Linked DNA regions of Homo sapiens: region 2 is linked to region 1. Evidence: promoter capture Hi-C in 16 types of primary human blood cells and fetal thymus (Javierre and others, 2016). All regions are on one chromosome and are shown on one strand. Each heading gives the region's core, a stretch centred on a gene start or on the middle of the fragment in contact. The rest is flanking DNA. Distances are from core to core; before and after follow the strand shown.

What was found. Contacts are between HindIII fragments. The CHiCAGO score rates a contact against its expected background, and 5 or more counts as called.
Region 2: a fragment that was not itself captured here is called in contact with the fragment with the promoter of INSIG1 in region 1 in 1 of 17 cell types (total B cells); the score reaches 6.3 in total B cells.

What each region holds. Positions count from the first base shown.
Region 1 is chr7:155,296,628-155,300,592 of GRCh38, forward strand. INSIG1 (insulin induced gene 1) reads left to right here and starts at 1,251. Exons shown (of 6, transcript NM_005542.6): 1 at 1,251-1,332; 2 at 1,632-2,070. The coding sequence starts at 1,659. It overlaps INSIG1-DT (INSIG1 divergent transcript), which reads right to left and starts at 2,353. Exons shown (of 2, transcript NR_183448.1): 1 at 1,524-2,353. RefSeq lists enhancers at 247-296, 2,707-2,776 and a silencer at 757-1,586. The HindIII fragment of the contact is 6,135 bases long and covers 1-3,965 here.
Region 2 is chr7:157,336,917-157,340,881 of GRCh38, forward strand. DNAJB6 (DnaJ heat shock protein family (Hsp40) member B6) reads left to right here and starts at 88. Exons shown (of 10, transcript NM_058246.4): 1 at 88-228. RefSeq lists enhancers at 1-38, 39-542, 1,271-1,320, 3,623-3,965 and silencers at 151-360, 421-610. The HindIII fragment of the contact is 678 bases long and covers 1,265-1,942 here.

The DNA.
Region 1 (3,965 bases), core at 1-2,500:
ATCTACGTATCTGGTTGTGTGATCCTCAAGCACTTATGCAAGGTGGAGTGTAAACAATGGCCAAGACCCAAACTGCAATGTTCCCTGAAGTCCAACCTGCTTGGAGTCCTTGGGAACGTGTACAATGGTTAACAGGCTTGAGAGGAGTCAGCTGGGAGAGTGAGAGCGAGACTGCCCTGCAGAGGGGCCGCTGAGGATGGACCCCTGTAGGCCGTCCACACCCACCACGCGTGTCATCCTCAGGAAATGCAACCGGATGCTCGGAATTTCGCCCCTAAAGCGACTCAGGGCAGTCTCAGCTCAGGAAGACTTCTTTTTTTGACCTTCTGGCTTAAAGCCACAACCCCAGGCTGAGGATGCCACATCAACGGCGTTTCCTCGCCACGCTGCAGGCGTGACTCACGTTTCTAAGCCTGCAGGGTCCCCGGGCCAAGCGCGGCTACTGAGAGCACAGCGTCCTCCCTCAGCCCCTGCTCATCTGCACGGAGCAAAGCCGCAGCTTTCTCTGCTGTCAGCGCTTTATACGACTCGGATGTAGGCTCTGAGCGGGCACGGGCCCGCCCTCAGACGGCGACCCGAGGGGCAAACAGGATGGAGGCGCGCTCCCTTGGAGGCTGTGGTCTCGATTTTATCTGCTCCTGGGTGGTGCGGGTGGTTTGCTCTCTAGGCGTGAGCAAAGGCCACAAGGGGCCCGAAAAAATCACCCAAGGATGCAAGCCCGCCATTGCGCTGAGCAGGGGCCTCCCCGCCGCCAGAGCCCGCGCCCCTCCAGGGAGGCCCGCGCGATCGAGACCCGCCGCCTCCCGGCCAGGCGCGGGACACCAGGCGAGGGGAGCCAGGAGCCGGGAGGGGCGGCGCCGGGCCCGCAACCCCACCCTGTCCTGCCTCCGCCTCCTCCCGGCAGGACCGTCCCCTCCCAGGCCCCAGCTCCGCGGCCGCCCACTCGCAGCCGGCCAGTCCCGCTCGGGCCCGCGTGCCCCGCAGCCGCCACGCGCCCCGCAGTCCGTGCCGAGGCTCCCGCCCGAGTGCGCGCGGGCCGGCGGTGGCGTGTGCGCACGTCATATGGGCCGCCGGCCTCCCATTGGTTGCGGCCGCCTCACCAGACCGCGTGCGGACGGGCTCGCGGGCGGGGCGGGGCAAGCTCAGGCCACGCCCCTGGGCGGTGCGCGCGGGCGGTGGGTAGGCCGGGCAGGCTCACGTGATGCGGGCCCCGCGGCCCGCCATATAAACCCGCGCGCCCGCCAGGCGCTGCGGCCGTCCCGGGCCGTGACTCCTCCTTTCCCCCGCCCCGCCTCCGTTCGGAGAGCCGGCGGGCGGGCGCCTCTCGGCCAGGTACGCGGCCGGCTGGGATAGGGGTCGCGGGCGGGCTTTGGTCGCGCAGCAGCCGGTCCTCCCCGGAGGTAGGCGGGCGCGGGCCCTGTTGGGTCTTTGGGACGCGGGTCCCGCTGGGGCCGGGGATGCTGCTCGCTGTGAGCGCGGGTCCCGTCCGCCGCTGGCCCCGGGCGGGCGCACGGGGGTCTAACCTTGGGGGGCGGCGCTGCCGCCTGGCCCGGGTGCCGGGGTTCGCGTCCCGCGGGGCCTTCCTCGCTCTTTGTCTCTTCTGAGTGAACTTGATGACCCCCTTCTTCCAGGAAGCGCCTCTTGGACGCGTGTGACCGATGCCCAGATTGCACGACCACTTCTGGAGCTGCTCCTGTGCGCACAGCGCGAGGCGCCGAGGCCCCCCGCGAGCCAGCGCCGCGGGGCTGGCGGCCAAGGTTGGGGAGATGATCAACGTTTCCGTGTCCGGGCCCTCCCTGCTGGCGGCCCACGGTGCCCCGGACGCTGACCCCGCGCCCAGGGGCCGCAGTGCTGCGATGAGCGGCCCCGAGCCCGGCAGCCCCTACCCCAACACCTGGCATCATCGCCTGTTGCAGAGGAGCCTCGTGCTCTTCTCGGTTGGGGTGGTCCTAGCCCTGGTGCTCAACCTGCTGCAGATCCAGAGGAATGTCACTCTCTTCCCCGAGGAGGTGATCGCCACCATCTTTTCCTCCGCCTGGTGGGTCCCTCCCTGCTGCGGGACAGCAGCTGGTGAGTACCCCTCCTGGTTCTTCTGGAAGTAAAAAGGGTGTCTTTTCGGTTGAAAGTACTTTTCAGCCTATAAGAAACATGCATTTGAAACTGGAACTATCCACAGATTGAAAGTGTGCATCTCCAGTCTTGGGATTTAGAGAAATGAAGGAGGGGTAGAGAGGACCTGGCACCCCCGAGGGCGGGTTCGGGCCACAGCTCTCTGAAGTTTGAGGAAGCACAGTGATGGAGATGAGGCAGGGAGATAATTGGCTGTTCAAGCAGGTGCTGTGCCAAGCTGACTGAGGGCCCTTCCCTCCTGGCGTCCGGGTACAGCCCCAGCTGTCATCCCGCGCCAGCCGCCCCGGATTGGCCGCCTGGGGAACTGGTGAGCAGCGGGACTGAAAGGCCATTGGTCGCGGCAGCAAACATGCTACCCTGCTGGATAACTGAAAACAAACCCGTCACATGGGTTCAGGAGGCGGTTGCCAGGGGAGCAACTTCTCAGCACTTCCTTTTGCCGGGTCGCTGAGTAAACTGTGGTCTGAAGCCAAACCGCCTACACCCTGAACTGTTAGAGCTCTGTAGATTACGTTCTTAAGGAAAAGAGTAACCCCCTTACGGCGTTTAGATTTTCGTACACCCAAGCAGTAGCATAGATGCTGTACAACGTAACACTGAGTCAGTCTGAACTGTGGACACGGGGACTGCTGGGTGTGTGTACTAGACTTTCTTGGCTATCATTGAACCGCTTTTATAGAAATGTTGAGTTGATCTTGGCTCAGCAGATCACTTACTGCTCCTGTAGTCACACAGCATTTGTTTATTTAACGAGCTTGTCGGGTGCTTTCTGCAACCTCAACTCTATAAGCTGTTGAAATGTTAATCCAAAAGTGAGCACCACAAGCCCCTATCCTTAAGCAGCTTAGAGTCTGGTGGGGAAAACAAACCAGTATGTCAGTGACTCCAGTGCAGTGCAGGGAGCATCCTGTTTGCTTTGTGGCTGACGTTTGTCAGCTGACTGCTGACCATAGGCTTCAGATGCTTTGCTGTGTTCATTCCTTACAGCAATACCATGTGTAGCTTCATTTATAGATGTGGCAACTGAATCACAGGTGAAGTCACATCCAAGGGTGCGCAGGTAGAAAGGGGCCAAGCCATCGTTGGTAACTGCTCCTGCTGCCTTGGTAGGTGTGTCTCCTGCACTGTGGAAACACATTGCCTCAGTTGACTCACTGAAAACAGCAAGCAGCAGAGAGGTTTGTAGCAGATTAACAGAGGGCTCCGTGTTGAAGAACTAGGACAGGTGTCTGTAATTATTAAGTAGTGGGTAGAATGTTTTCATATTTGTTCTCGGAGGGACGGGATCCTCTTTCGTTTTTCGAAACACTTTATGTGGCTGTACTAATTGAACATTTTTTGAGAACTATATCTAGATTTAAAATTCCATGTTTCATATACATTTGGCAGAATAGTTTCTTTCCTTTAACCAAAAACTTGATCTTAGAAATGAAATAGTTTAGCCTTCAGTATTTGTAATTGGATCCTCAAGGGTTTCTAGGAATATCTGGACAATTTCTCATACTCTCATATTCTACTTTTTTTTAAACCATCAGCCAAGAGCATAAGTAAAATTTTTCATAGTATGTTTTTTACCTATTTATTTATTAAGCTATAGTGAAGTAAAGTTAATTTGGGGGGTCCATTTTTCAGAACTCCAAAATTAGAACCTGATGAAGTATAATAAATTGAAAACAACATTTTTTATCTGAATGTTTGATGCAAACTGTGTTTCTTGTTTCTCAGTTGAACCTAAAATGTATATTTCTTTCATACTACACTGAGGTGAAACAATTGCAGGGTTCTCAAGAGCCCTGGGACACAGTGACCCTTGTGTCCCAGCATCCAACCCCACG
Region 2 (3,965 bases), core at 354-2,853, 2.0 Mb after region 1:
CGGTATGGGCAGTGGAAACTGCGCATGCGCGGCGTCAGGGTCGGGCGGAAGTTGACGCCGCCGTGCCGCCGCCGCGTGACGCATTTCCTGTTTGTTGTTGGAGAAAGGAGAGAAAGGAAAGCGCGAGGAGCCGCCGCCACCACCAGCGCAGCAGTCCTGGAGCTGTGAGGAGATTCGGGCCGTCACCCTGCCTCCCCTGCGTCCCGCCACCGGCCGCTTCTGTCCTCGGTGAGGGTCTGTTCCGAGGGTCGGGGGAGGTCGCCTAGGGCCCCGCGCGCGCCCGGCAGACGGCGGACCTCACCCGGCGCCTGGCAACAGCGCGGGGGGTGACCGGGGTCGCCGGCCGGGGAAAGGACTGGACGGGGCGGGGGCCGTGGCCGGGGTTGCGGGGCGAAGGGTGGGCGGGGTCCTCTGGGTCAGGTCTGGGGCCGGGGCCGGGGCTGGGGTCTGGGGCCGCCCGGCCGCGTCCTCCCCGCCCGGCGTCCTTGCCGGAACGCGGCCCAGCCTCCGCGGCGGCGGTTGGGGGTGGGGCCCGGCCTGGGAGCGGCCGGCTGGGGCTCGGCTGGGGCTCGGCGGGGCCGGCAGCGTGGGAGGCGTGGAGCGCCTTCTTTTTCTAAGGCTCCCGCACTCGCGTCTGAAACCAGAAACGGGAGTGGCTTGCGGAGCAGGAATGCCGCAGCCGTGCCGCCAAGTTCGGAGGGAGAAGAAGCAGGTGGGGGACCGCAAAGCCCTGTTTCTAGAACTCCGGACGGATTGTTCAGAAGTTTGTGGAAGAGCAGGCTGCCTTTCTCACTCAGAATGTTTGTCTGCTTTGCTTTGCGTTAAAGAATCTGCACCGTAGTTGATGCAACTGAAGTTTATATAAGAAGTTTACATTAACTCTTACCTAAGGAAGGTCAGTGACACACGCAGTGTAAACTGCAAATCATATATTGGCTCGAGAAAGGTTTTGGCACTAGCGAATTTTTTAAAGGATGGGTTTGCTAGTCAGACGTAAACTTCTGTGCTAACTTCTCACGTAAACGGGGCAGGAAACAGCGCAAGTAGAACGATCGTGCCACCACCGAAGGGGTGCCGCCTGCGAGCTCGGAGGCTTCAGCCTGTTTGGGAAGAGTAGGCTGAGCGGCGCTCTTTGTAGTTTTCAACGTTTTTATTGAGTTGCGAATTTTAGTAAGGATTTGTCGCTACAATTTAAGCCAAATTATTGATTTAGTAGAAAAGTTAGAGTGAAGACCGAAGAAAGGAAACAGACGTTAACCATTAAAGCTTGATTGCTGCTGCTTCGTGTTTAACCGCACTTTTCCAAATAGTGTTGCGTATCAGAACGATTCATGATTTCTGAAAGGAATTATATGCAGCCGCCTTACTCCTCCGCCAGTCCACCCGTCCCGCGTTCTCTCTGGGTTTACTCCAGACTTCCTTTTTTTTTTTTTCCTGAGACGGAGTCTGTTCTGTTGCCCAGGCCAGAGTGCAGTGGCGCGATCTCCACTCACTGCAACTTCCAGCTCCCAGGTTCAAGCGAGTCTCCTGCCTCAGCCTCCTGAGTAGCTGGGGTTACGGGTGCTCGCCACCATGTCCGACTAATTTTTGTATTTTTAGTAGAGACGGGGGTTTCACCGTGTTGGTCAGGCTGGTCTCGAACTTATGACCTAAAGTGATCGCCTGCCTCGGCCTCCCAAAGTGTTGGGATTAGAGGCGCGAGCCACCGCGCCTCGCCGACTCCAGACTTGTTTCCACTCCTGAGGGCCTTAAGCTCCCTTGGAGTTTGTGCTTTCACATTTCTTTCTGCCTTCCGTGATAAAGGGATGAATAGTTTTTATGCACGCTTCAGCGAGCTGCGGGTTTTTGTGGATTACGCAGGCTGTGAAATTTGGGAAGTAAGTTGCCTTAAGTTGGTAGATGTGGAGATTTGACAGGAAGTGGGAGAACAAAGGGGTTGGGAAGCTTTTGGAAAGTGTCCAGGCTTCATCTGTGCTGTGGAAGGTGAGAAAGTTGGGAATTCCAGAGGGCAGAGCTCTTAAAGAATTTGAGATGAGTTCAGCACTCTCTTCAAAACAGTGTTTTAAAATTTATTTTCTTCTGGATATGAAAGTGTTAGGTTTGGGAAGTAATTCTGGCTGTAGGACAGTTTTTCCGGAACACTAGGTGGGGAGTGTTGAATGTTGTGAAGACTAAAATATGCATATGGTATTACAGTGTGATACCTGTTACTGAGTGGCGTACATTAGCTTTCATTTTTAAGCAAGCCCGTAATTCCCTTCTATTAACTCTGTTTTGGACAGTGGTACCCGTCACCCTCATCAGTCTTCAACCTAGATAACCTAAATCCAGGTCTGAGGTGGGGGTGGAATGGTCTGTTTGCACCTTTTTTTTTTTTTTTTTTTTTTTTTTTTTTGAGACGGAGTCTTGCTCTGTCGCCCAGGCCGTAATTAATGCGGTGGCGCGATCTCGGCTCACTGCAAGCTCCACCTCCCGGGGTCACACCATTCTCCTGCCTCAGCCTCCCGAGTAGCTGGGACTTCAAGCTTCCGCCACCACAGCCGGCTAATTTTTTTGTATTTTTTTAGTAGAGACGGGGTTTCACCGTGTTAGCCAGGATGGTCTTGATCTCCTGACCTCGTGATCCGCCTCCTCGGCCTCCCAAAGTGCTGGGATTACAGGCATGAGCCACCGCGCCCGGCCTTTTGTGTGTGTGTGTGTGTGTGTGTGTGTGTGTGTGTGTGTGTGTGTGAGATGGAGTTTAGCTCTTGCCCCTGCTGGAGTATAATGGCACCATCTTGGCTCACTGCAACTTCGCCTCCCAGGTTCAAGCGATTCTCCTGCCTCAGCCTCCCGAGTAGCTGGGATTACAGGCATGCGCCACCACGCCCAGCTAATTTTTTCTATTTTTATTAGAGACGAGGTTTCACTATGTTGTTCAGGCTGGTCTCGAACTCCTGACCTCAGGTGATCCACCCGCCTCGGCTTCGCAAAGTGCTGGATTACAGGTGTGAGCCCGCGCGTCCGGCTGTCACTTTAAAGAGTATTATAAGAGGGCACTTCATAACTTGGGCAGGTATTTTTAGTCATCCTGAACGTGTCGCTGTGGACTGGGTGTCACCGCGGGACCGCACAGACACCTTACTGTCGTCTGCTGTAAAGGTCAGCTTCTATATTGGTTAATGCTTACAGATATCTGTTGAGGAATAAGAGAATGTAATTAGCCTTTGTATTTGTGAGTTGACGTTTTGACGGGATTTTTACTTCTTAGTATTTATTTGCATCGAGGTTACACACTGGATTAACAGCGTTTTTTGGAAACCTTTTTAAAACTTTTTCATTTCCTCAGAAATGATTCTGTTCAAAATGTGGTTTGGTTAAATTTGTGCAGGACCCCACCTGGTGGTGAGAGGCGGGTAACTGCAGGCTCATTAGCGAGTAAGAGTAGGATCAGTGGCAGGATTTAGCAAATGGTGTAGTTCAAGGATGAATAGAATTTGAGAATATCAAACTCAAAAAAATGAGGTTAATGAGAAGAAGAGCAAAGTTGGTGAAAACAAGAATATGTTAGAAACGATGATGTAGGAATGGAAAAACGACAACGCCTACCTGCAGAAAAGTCAACTAGTAAAAATGTGATTTTTTTTTTTGTATTGATATTAATGAGGTGTTTTGTCAAACAAAACCCTTTATGTTTTTGTATGGACATAAATCACTGTTGACCTGTTTCATGTTCCTGGAGATATCCTACTTGAGAAGGAATATTGATTGATGATTAGTTGACTGACTGATTTACTTGAGATGGAGTCCTTGCTCTGTGTCCCAGGCTGGAGTGCAGTGGCGCGGTCTTGGCTCACTGCACTCCTGGGTTCAAGCCATTCTCCTGCTTCAGCCTGCCAGGTAGCTGGGATGACAGGCGCGTGTCACCACGCCTGGCTAATTTTTGTATTTTTAGTAGAGACGGTTTCACCATGTTGGTCAGGCTG